Linked DNA regions of Homo sapiens: regions 2 and 3 are each linked to region 1. The links are contacts of gene promoters, found by promoter capture Hi-C in human tissues and cell types (Jung and others, 2019). All regions are on one chromosome and are shown on one strand. Each heading gives the region's core, a stretch centred on a gene start or on the middle of the fragment in contact. The rest is flanking DNA. Distances are from core to core; before and after follow the strand shown. Region 1 holds the start of KLRG2 (killer cell lectin like receptor G2). Region 2 overlaps HIPK2 (homeodomain interacting protein kinase 2). Region 3 overlaps HIPK2 (homeodomain interacting protein kinase 2).

Region 1 (3,547 bases), core at 427-2,926:
AGTAGAGACGGGGTTTCACTGTGTTGCCCAGGCTGGTCTTGAACTCTTGAGCTCAGTCAATCCGCCCACCTCGGCCTCCCAAAGTGCTGGGATTACAGGCGTGAGCTGCCGCGCCCAGCTTAATTTTTGCTTTTTTAGTAGAGACAGGATTTCAGCATGTTGGCCAGGCTGGTCTCGAACTCCTTACCTCAAGTGATCCACCTGCCTCGGCCTCCCAAAGTGCTGGGATTACAGGCTGAGCCACCACGCCTGGCCTCATCCCTTCTTAAAACGAGTTTTCCATTTGCAAACTGCTGGTTTCTTGGGGGCATTGTCCCCATGAGCTTTTCATAAAAATATCAATGATGTCACCATAAATGTGATGATTATTCTTGCTTCAAATTTAGCAGAATCCTTGTTGCTCTGACAGGAGCTCTTTTCAAACTGATGTCTTATCCTTCTTAGTGCCTCAAACTAGATCTTGTCGAGACATGTGATAACAAGTTAGTACAAATTTATTTTGGTGCCAAAAAATTTTCAAATCCATGCATAGTTTTTTTCATAGTATGAATTTTCCATGAACCTTTTGAAGACCGCTTGTATAGAAAAAAACAGTATATATAGGGTTTGGTGCTATCCAAAGTTTCAGGCATTCACTGGGAGGTCTTGGAACTATCCCAGTGGATAAGGGAGGACTACTATGCTAAAAACTATCCCTTGTTTAACTGAAATTCAAATTAAACTGAGTGGCCTGCATTTTATCTGCCAACCCTACCCTGGGGGCACTTAAAAATACCAGAGGCCAGGCGGGGCGCGGTGGCTCACGCCTGTAACCCCAGCACTTTGGGAGGCCGAGGCGGGCAGATCACGAGGTCAGGAGATCGAGACCATCCTGGCCAACATGGTGAAACCCCGTCTCTACTAAAAATACAAAAATTAGCCGGGCGTGGTGGGGTGGGTGCCTGTAGTCCCAGCTACTCACGAGGCTGAGGCAGGAGAATCGCTTGAACCTGGGAGGCGGAGATTGCAGTGAGCCGAGATCGGGCCACTGCACTCCAGCCTGGCGACAGAGCAAGACTCCGTCTCAAAAAAAAAAAAAAAAAGAAGAATTGCTTATCCACGCCCTGTTTCTTTTCTCTTAGCGTTACTCAGTGGGGGAGTCCTCCCAAGTATGATGGAGAGTCCTTTCGAAACCCTGCTGGATTGTCAGGACAACCAACTGGGCTACTTTTCCACAGGTCGCCCCAATTCCTTTGGATTCTGATTTCTCTGAGGTCCCAGGATCCAGACAGGCTTGGCCAATCCTTCCCCGCCCAAACTGTAACTCTCAAAACCAACACCCCGGCATAGGGCTGGAGGGGAAAATGGGTGAGGTCAGAGACAAAGAAGAGGGAAGGGTCAGGCGGGGCTCCGGGTTCCCTGCCACAAGCCTCCGCTGGTGTTCTGCTTTTCTCCCGAGAGCTCCCGCCCACCCTGCAACCCTCGCCTGGCCCCGCTGCCGTTCTCAGCTCCCTCCCAGTGCCTGGTGGAGGCCGGGGCTGTGTCCCGAAGGGGGTCGGGGCAGCAGAACCTCAGCCACAGCCAATCACAGCGGGGTCCTTCGGGGAGGGGCGTGGCCTGACAACTTCGGCGACGCGGCTGGACCAATCCGGACGGAGGAGAGCGAAGCTCCTCTGCACTGGGCCCAGGTGCGCTCCTCAGCGTCTCCGGGTGGCGGGGCGCGCGGGATGGAGGAGTCTTGGGAGGCTGCGCCCGGAGGCCAAGCCGGGGCAGAGCTCCCAATGGAGCCCGTGGGAAGCCTGGTCCCCACGCTGGAGCAGCCGCAGGTGCCCGCGAAGGTGCGACAACCTGAAGGTCCCGAAAGCAGCCCAAGTCCGGCCGGGGCCGTGGAGAAGGCGGCGGGCGCAGGCCTGGAGCCCTCGAGCAAGAAAAAGCCGCCTTCGCCTCGCCCCGGGTCCCCGCGCGTGCCGCCGCTCAGCCTGGGCTACGGGGTCTGCCCCGAGCCGCCGTCACCGGGCCCTGCCTTGGTCAAGCTGCCCCGGAATGGCGAGGCGCCCGGGGCTGAGCCTGCGCCCAGCGCCTGGGCGCCCATGGAGCTGCAGGTAGATGTGCGCGTGAAGCCCGTGGGCGCGGCCGGTGGCAGCAGCACGCCATCGCCCAGGCCCTCCACGCGCTTCCTCAAGGTGCCGGTGCCCGAGTCCCCTGCCTTCTCCCGCCACGCGGACCCGGCGCACCAGCTCCTGCTGCGCGCACCATCCCAGGGCGGCACGTGGGGCCGCCGCTCGCCGCTGGCTGCAGCCCGGACGGAGAGCGGCTGCGACGCAGAGGGCCGGGCCAGCCCCGCGGAAGGAAGCGCCGGCTCCCCGGGCTCCCCCACGTGCTGCCGCTGCAAGGAGCTGGGGCTGGAGAAGGAGGATGCGGCGCTGTTGCCCCGCGCGGGGTTGGACGGCGACGAGAAGCTGCCCCGGGCCGTAACGCTTACGGGTGAGTGCTCACCTGCGCCGGCAGCCGACGCCGCCAGGTCGGGTGGACGTAGCCGAAACCCCCACACCCGCCCAGCCCTGGACCGCTGGGCAGCTGACCGACTAAGGGACCCAGTTGGCCATCCCGATCCCCAACCCGATCTGGCCTCTCGGGCTTACAATCAATAACATTCCTGTCTACGTAACTGTAATTCACATTGTTGCCGTGTCTCACGCCTGTAATCCCAGCACTTTGGGAAGCCGAGGCGGGCGGATCACCTGAGGTCAGGAGTTCGAGACCAGCCTGACCAATATGATGAAACCCCGTCTCTACTAAAAATACAAAAATTAGCCTGGCATGGTGGCATTCACCTGTAATCCCAGCTACTCAGGAGGCTGAGACAGGAGAGTCGCTTGAACCCGAGAAGCGGAGGTTGCAGTGGGCCGAGATCATGCCATTGTACTCCAGCCTGGGCAACAAGAGAGAAACTCCGTCTCAAAAAAAAAAGAGTAAAGCCACTCCCCTTCTCATCCTCCCCTACCCGCACTCCCGAACTTTCAAATTCCCTCTTAGCATGCGCAGCACCTTTGAGAAGTAGCAGTGGAAGGAACTCCAGATGAGGGGAAGTCATTCAGGATCAGGTGGCAGGGGTGGCAGCCCAGATCCCCCCATCCCTGCACTGCCAAGGACTTTCTGGAAGGTCCAGGCTGCTGCTTTCTTTCCACCACACTGAGGAACATTTAGCCCCAAACACTCATCCATTCAGTAGATAGTGAGTGGGACCACAGGGTAGATGTGCCAGTAGTATGTGCGGCTGGTTATTTTGTGGTGTGGGGGAGGGGGAGCTTGACACAGAAGAAAGAGCCCACAAAAGATACAGACTGTCCTGGATAAGGAGACTGGAGGGAGTAGTTGGTGAATTTGGGGCAAGAGATAGCCAATTTTTTTCTTTTTTTCTTTTTTCTTTCTTTTTTTTTTAAGAAATAAGTTTTGCGCTTGTCACCCAGGCTGGAGTGCAATGGCACAATCTCGGCTCACTGCAACCTTCGCCTCCTGGATTCAAGCGATTCTCCTGCCTCAGCCTCCTCCCGAGTAGCTGGGATTA
Region 2 (3,547 bases), core at 429-2,928, 160 kb before region 1:
TTCTATGTGCCTGTGGTCCCAGCTACTCAGGAGGCTGAGGAGGGAGGGTTGCTTGAGCCCAGGAGGTGGAAGGTGCGGTCAACCAAGATTGTGCCACTGCACTCCAGCCTGGACAACAGAGCGAGACCCTGTCTCAAAAAGAAAAAAAAAATAAGGAAGAGGGATGATCTGTTTATTTCATTGCTTTCACATGGACTTAGACGTGTTATAGATAAGTGGTTTAGTATTGTTCAGCTGACTACTCTATGCCAGGCCTCTGCAAGGTGCCCCCCTATGATGCTCTGTTTAACCTAGTCTTCATACCTGTACCCAGAAGTAGGTACACAACCAGTACCTGACAGGGCTGGGATTCAACCCGGTGAACACTGGGATCCCAAGTGCGGGCCACGCCCTCTTGACTTCTGCAGCCTCTACACCTCCACTGGAGGCCATTCCCCTGCAGGGTCATATGATCTGGACATGATCTGGGAATGCTTCTCAGTGTGTGCAGTCAAGAGAGCGAGTGGAGCTAAATCATCAAAGCTTCCATATTGATGGTGTCCAAAATGACAGTTGTTTTTCCTCTTTCTTTAGAAAGATAGAATTTTCAGTGTCTTCCTATGAGAATGTTGGAAAGAAATTATCCCCCTCTTTCTTAGGTGCAGATTTTGTCTGACACTTCATGTGTGTTTAAAGTATTTTTGATGTCCCAAAATAGTAATGAGGCGATTCTTTAAGATGGTTCCATGGGGTGGAGCTGTAGCAGTGAAGGTGAGGAAGAGCAAATGAGAGATCAGTTATGACAGAACCTGGAAATGCTCACTCACAGTATTCAGGAACCAGCAGCCCTACCTGCCTGAAACCGAACCGAGAACAGGAACAGCCCCTGTGGAAGCAACCGACATGTGATGATCAACCCAAAAAACCATGTAAACTCTGAAACAGAAAGGCCAAGCTGTCTGCCTCTCACATAGGAGGTACTGACAAGGTGGCATTGCCAGCTCCAGGGAAAACTGGCAACTGCTGAGGGTGTGCACTTGACATAGACTCATTCCTTCTACAAATGTGTATGGAGCACCTACATGCCCAGGCTGCGTGCTAGGCGCTGGAGATACAGCAGTGACATGGGGGTTGGGGGACTTGCGCTGCTCTGTGTGTGGTAGCCACCCCTGCCTGGCCACTTACTAAGGCTCAGCTCAGACTCCTCCTGGGAAGCCCATCCTGCTTTCTCTCTCCTCCTCCAATTTCCCCCATCTTTGTGTACTATGTACACACTTCACACATTGTATGTCAGATGTCGCTATGCTGCTACCTTGGCTAGACGGTGAACTCCTGGAAGAGCTGCAGGGTCTGGTTTACTTTTTGATCTTTAGCACCCAGCACAGTACCTGGCACAGAGGAAACACTTAGTAAATGGTGGTTGAATATTCTAATAAGTGAGTGAGGACAGCTTGAAACAAATTCTGGCTCAGAATGACTGTCAGAATGAGCTTCCCTGAAGATTAAGCATGCTTTAGCAACCATCCAACATGCTTCAGGTGGGCTGGATGAAAAGAAACATTTTAGACTTGACTTTGAACTTCTAGGACCTCAGAGCCTTATAGACTAGCAGAGCAGGGGGACAAGGCCTCTGCAAGATCAGATCCCAGCAAAATGGTCTGAAGTCCCCAAAGATTCCTGGGGGCCAAATGGGGAACTACCTCCCTTACCTGAGGGTTTATGGGCTGGGTGTTGAGCAGCTGTTTACGAAGCAGCTTCTGTGTGCCAGGCTGAGGATCAAGGACAAGTGAGATGCAGACCCTGCCCTCCAGGAGGTATAGTAGAGGCAGATATGCAAACGTATTTGTGTGTCAAAAATGACAATTATTGGCTGGGCGTGGTGGCTCACGCCTGTAATCCAGCACTTTGGGAGGCCGAGGCGGGCGGATCACGAGGTCAGGAGATCGAGACCATCCTAGCTAACATGGTGAAACCGCGTCTTTACTAAAAATACGAAAAATTAGCCGGGCATGGTGGTGGGCGCCTGTAGTCCCAACTACTCAGGAGGCTGAGGCAGGAGAATGGCGTGAACCCGGGAGGTGGAGCTGGCAGTGAGCCAAGATCGCGCCACTGCACTCCAGCCTGGGCAACAGAGTGAGACTCTGTCTCAAAAAAAAAAAAAAAAAAAGACAATTATTTACTCTCTTTCTCCAGAACAAGAATGTTTAGTGGCTTGCTTTGGGAATGTTGGAAAGGAATGAGTCCTCTTTCTTAGGTGCAGATTTTGTCTGACACTTCATATATATGTTTAAAGTATTTCTGATGTCCCAAAATAGCGATGAGGAAATTCTTTAAGATGGTTCTGTGGGGCCAGTGGGTGCTCAGTTAGTATTTATTGGACCAATCTGGTCTGAGTATGTCATTGATCTTTGTATGCTTGTCACCTGGTAGAGCCAGCACAGAGACAGTGGGCAGTGTCTGTTTGAATAAGGAAGAATGGAAGCGGGCAGGGAGGGGAGCAGGCTGTATCTGAAACATGTCTCATGAGTGCAGAGAAAAGGCTGCACCCTTAGGGGTGGGAGAGGGATCCAGAGTGGATTGGAAAAGGTTAAAACCAAAGGCAAGAGAGCAGCAGGTGGCTGTAGTGAGGCCCAGATGGAAGAGCATGTGATTTCGCATGCTGCAGTGGGACTGCGCAGGATAAAGTCTTCAACATAAGAGCTAAGGTGGAGGCTCTAGAGGGCGTAATGACAATGGCCATAAAATAAGAGGTTTGGGCTAAATCCCTGAGGTCCCAAGTCCTAACCCTGCATGAGCCAGGTGCCACTTCTAGCCCTCCTGTTCCTCCTCCCTGTCATTTTTGCTGTAATTCTTTTGTTGGCCACCTGCAAGTAGGTGTCCTTGGCACTCCTGCTGTCTGCCCTGCTGTGGTGAGTGTGAGCCGGGTTGCTCGTGCCCCTCTCTGAGCCTCAGCTTCTGCTCCTCCTTGGGCTAAATCCTGCCCCCTCATGCCCAAACCTTGATTGCTGCATAATGATTCAGCCCTTCTACTCTCTTTTATCTGCACTGCCTTAGAGCTTTGTCTTAATCCATATTTTAACACTTTCTTATATTTAATAAAGGTTTATTTGATCAACAAATGCTTAATGAGTGGCTACCGAATGCCTGCGCTGCCCTCATAGACTTGGTCAGGGAAGACAGACAGTGAGCAGGTTAAGAAAGTGCTGTGAAGTGGCATTTATGGCACCCTATATGAAGACTAACTGGTGTCAAGGGAGGCCTGTCTGTAGCGTGACAGCTGAGCTAAGATTTGAGGGATGAGAAGGAGGCAGCCATGTGACAGCCAGCAGGGAGAGCATTTAAGGCAGAAGCAACAGCATCCCACGAAGACTCTGGCTCCAAAGGAGCTCCAGGTACTCTTGCAAATGGAAAGGAAACCAACGGGCCTGCAACGTATTAAGCTAGGAGAGTGGTTGGCAGTGATGGTGGAGAGGTGGGCAGGGTCCCAATCGTGGAGGCCCCATGGCCATGGAGGGGTCTAGATTTCATTCCAAGTCCAGTGGGGAGCCCCTGAAGGCTTACGGCAAGG
Region 3 (3,547 bases), core at 598-3,097, 130 kb before region 1:
AGACTGGGTCCATATCAGGACACAAGTGCCATTTGTCCTTGAGTCTACAGAGCTGGAAGATTCAGCCTCTCAAGGAGCTCATGGTCTCCATGGTGAGACAGGCTGTAAGCAAAAATAGTTTAATCAAAATGCAGAATAGCATGTACTAGGGGCCAGGTAGACAAACAGATTATGTGTTACAGAATCGAGAGGAAGGAGAGACCACTGCAGGCTGGAGGAAAACACCACTAAGACACAGCCCCTCCCTCCCAGGAGACTTTAGGCTGGAAAGACCAACTGTACTGTAAGGCAGATTGTAACAGGAGCTGGGCTAGAAGGCTATATTGTACTGTGTGATAGCAAAGGAAGGAGCAATTCATTTCCATTAATGGTGTCTGAAAGGGTTTCACAATGGGGCATGTGGGACCCAGGCTAGGCCTTAAAGCCCAAAGGCTTGGAGAGAATGCTATGGGTCAGAGAGCTTGTATGAAGGGAAAGGCCTGTGCTCACAGTATGCTTGGAAAACAATGAGTAAACTAATCTTGGTGTCAGAAGAGTGGAGAGCAGAGGGAGATAAGTCTAGAAGGTAAGGTTGGCCAAACCAGGGAAAACAGGGCACTAGACCAGGCGCATACCATGTTCATCAAGCTGTAATTGGGATTTTGGAGCAGGGGTGCTGACATGCACAAAGGTGTCTTGTGGAAAGAATGATCTACCCTCTGTGCTCAAGAAGGCTGGAAGGGAAGTAGAGACCAGAACATTTCTAGTCAGGGCCTTATAGGTCCCAGGCACCAGGAAGTCACAACTGAAAAGAGTCAGTGGATTCCAGGGACATCAGGAAGGAAGCAGCAGCAGGAGCAGTGGCTGGCAAGAAAGTGGAACCACCGAGCAGAAGTTTGGGAACCTAGAGGATACAGGTGCCAGGACCCCCAGCAGGGACACCCACAGGGGCTAAGGGCTGGGGGGAGTCTAGATATGAGCAGACCATGGGGAATGTGGAGGGTTGAGGGGGAAGAAGCCTCCGGAAGAGATCGCGATATGGAGAAAACAGGAAATACAAGTCATGTCATCTGACAAAACACAGACACTGATGCCCACATATGTACACACGTGTCCCAAGCAGACTATGCGACGCTGCAAAAGCACACCCACTTTAAAATATGTGGCTTAAAATCAGACATCTGTGCCACTCAATTTCGTGATTATTTTCAAACAAATCAATTTGCTTTGCAATGAAATTTAGCACAAAATCTAAGTATAGAAAACATATGTAAAATAAGACTTTGTCCTTTTTATCAAATGTGACATCCATACACACCCTACTTGAAATTCTATTTGTGTCCAAGATATCTTCGTGGTTTCTTCCTATGTATTCCCTGGTCCTTGTAACTTCTAGAGGCAAAACCTCTTGTAGACAGTGCTGAATGTGAAACCACTGGTAACCACCTATCTTGCTAAAGGATCAGTATGAAGGCTAAGATAGGGGAAACTGGAGAATTCCAAAGTTGGAATTTATTTTCCTTATACAGCCTCATTTTTCATGCAAGTTCAGTCTCAAGTGATGTCTTTTTCTGAAAAAGAAAGGCAAGAGGACATAATGTCAATGGCTTGTGTTTGTCAAAGCCACCTCCATTTCAGTTATCTGGACACACCAGCATCTTTTCTATCTGCCAGGCTTTGTCACTGCATACCAACATGAATGCATGGGATGCAGACACAAAGCCCCAGGCTCAACATGTCCCTCTCCCTCTCTGCATACATCTCCTGTACTTCTCTAAGCTTTGCAGCCATCTAAGGACATCTGTAAACAGTACTGCCCATAGTCCTGAGCCCCTCCTCGGCCCTGCTCTCCGCCTGTTGCATGTGCTCCTGTGCCAAGCTCTGGGTACTGAGACCATAGTCCTTTAGGGCCTGCAAGAGCCTCCCCCTGGATTTGTCCTCCCACATGTGGACTGCACCCACCAGGCCCGAGGGGAGTGTGAGCAGAGCTTGGACGTGCAGGCTGGCAGGTCCAGGCACCCAGAGCTCATCATGTTGTGGGATGGAATGGGGCTTGGGCAGAGAGAAGGAGGGCAAGGTCCAGCTCTCTCCCTGTCACCATGTGTCAGCACAGAACCCAAGGAATCCCATAGTCCTCAACTCACGCCTGGTCTTCCCGGTTATTGGGAAGGTGTATTTGTCAAAATGAAAAGGCAGAACATTTTATTAAACAGTTTTCTAGCCTAATTTTTAGCCTTTTCAGCATTTAGACATGGTAGCAGGCATCCGTGTGTCCTCTTGTCTGGGCCTCACAAATGCCAGGAGCAAGTCTGAATGTGAACACCAAGGTGACTGTCTCCCATGTTTTCAGGGACCTGCTTTTCCCTGCGACTTTCAATCGTGTTTCCACTCCTCTCTGCTTTTGCCTTTCTGCTCTTAGTTTTTGTTTGTTTGTTCTTCTTTGAGTTCATTTATTTGATTTAGATTCGTGTCTCCCAACATGCCACCTCCCTCATTTTTTATTTTTGTTTATTTTTGTTTAATCCCCATCACTCCTTTAGGCTCCCTCCTCTACCAGTGCCACTATTTCCTTAGCCAATCCCGAAGTCTCCATACTAAACTACCCATCTACACTCTACCAGCCCTCAGCGGCATCCATGGCTGCAGTGGCCCAGCGGAGCATGCCCCTGCAGACAGGAACAGCCCAGATTTGTGCCCGGCCTGACCCGTTCCAGCAAGCTCTCATCGTGTGTCCCCCCGGCTTCCAAGGTAAGATTGAGCAGCCACAGCCTCTCACCTGCTTCTTACAGAACGGCCTCTGGGGCTCCGGCACCTGCAGTTTTCTGTCACGCTCATTTTCATGGAGAAAGGCCCTCCTCATTTCTTCCAGTGAGAGCGCTGGTATCACTGAACTAGAGGGCTCCTCTCCTACTGTGGCCAACCTAGAAACAATAGGGCTTATGCCTCAGCACCAAGTCAATCCTTTGTGACTCTCACACCTGCCAGGGACTGTGTCCCTGGCCAGCTGTCTGTAAATAAGTACATAGTTTGTGCTTTCATTGTTATGCTGATGTCAGCTCTTGCTTTTCCTCGCATGAAATATCCTCTGTGTGGGTTATCTGTAGAAAACTGCCAATCTCTGACAGCCGACATAGTCCCAGCTCCCATGAAGAATATCCATCAGTCTGAAAAGTACTTCCCTGGGACCCCTCCTCAAAACAATTCTTTGGCCATGACCCCAGCACTCCTCTCCTGTAGACTCTAAGAAGCTAGACTGTGTACTTTGTTACAATTTACCCAGAAAGCTTAAGAATTTATTTTTGCAAGCCTCATGGTGTAAACTGTGTGGTTACAGTCAATGCAATTCCAAATGGGTTCATACATCTCCCCAACACCCCTCATTTTGACATACACAGGTACATCTTGATGGTCAGAAGCCCTTGTTTTCCTGTTGTAATCTGCGAGCATATCTGTCCTACTTTTGGCCTTACAGCCTCCTTAATCTGACCTTCTAGCCTTTGAAGACATTCAAGATTTCAGGAGGAGTTTTGTTTTTTAATTTGTTAGAAGCCAAAGGGGAGACTTCCAA

What was found. The method cuts DNA at HindIII sites, captures the fragments that hold promoters and counts their contacts. A contact is called where the count stands out against the background at its distance.
Region 2: a fragment that was not itself captured here is called in contact with the fragment with the promoter of KLRG2 in region 1 in 1 of the 25 tissues and cell types used here (adrenal gland).
Region 3: a fragment that was not itself captured here is called in contact with the fragment with the promoter of KLRG2 in region 1 in 1 of the 25 tissues and cell types used here (bladder).

What each region holds. Positions count from the first base shown.
Region 1 is chr7:139,481,802-139,485,348 of GRCh38, reverse strand. It overlaps KLRG2 (killer cell lectin like receptor G2), which reads left to right and starts at 1,676. Exons shown (of 5, transcript NM_198508.4): 1 at 1,676-2,463. The coding sequence starts at 1,707. RefSeq lists silencers at 1,507-1,566, 2,027-2,306 and an enhancer at 2,437-2,516. The HindIII fragment of the contact is 6,160 bases long and covers 1-3,547 here.
Region 2 is chr7:139,637,256-139,640,802 of GRCh38, reverse strand. All of the region lies in intron 2 of HIPK2 (homeodomain interacting protein kinase 2), which reads left to right. Among named protein-coding and RNA genes, the nearest start is that of CLEC2L, 120 kb to the right of the region's middle. The HindIII fragment of the contact is 9,022 bases long and covers 1-3,547 here.
Region 3 is chr7:139,613,466-139,617,012 of GRCh38, reverse strand. HIPK2 (homeodomain interacting protein kinase 2) reads left to right here. Exons shown (of 15, transcript NM_022740.5): 8 at 2,520-2,727. It overlaps LOC105375530 (a long non-coding RNA gene), which reads right to left. Exons shown (of 4, transcript XR_001745383.2): 3 at 2,756-2,900; 4 at 1,460-1,550. Among named protein-coding and RNA genes, the nearest start is that of CLEC2L, 92 kb to the right of the region's middle. The HindIII fragment of the contact is 6,188 bases long and covers 1-3,547 here.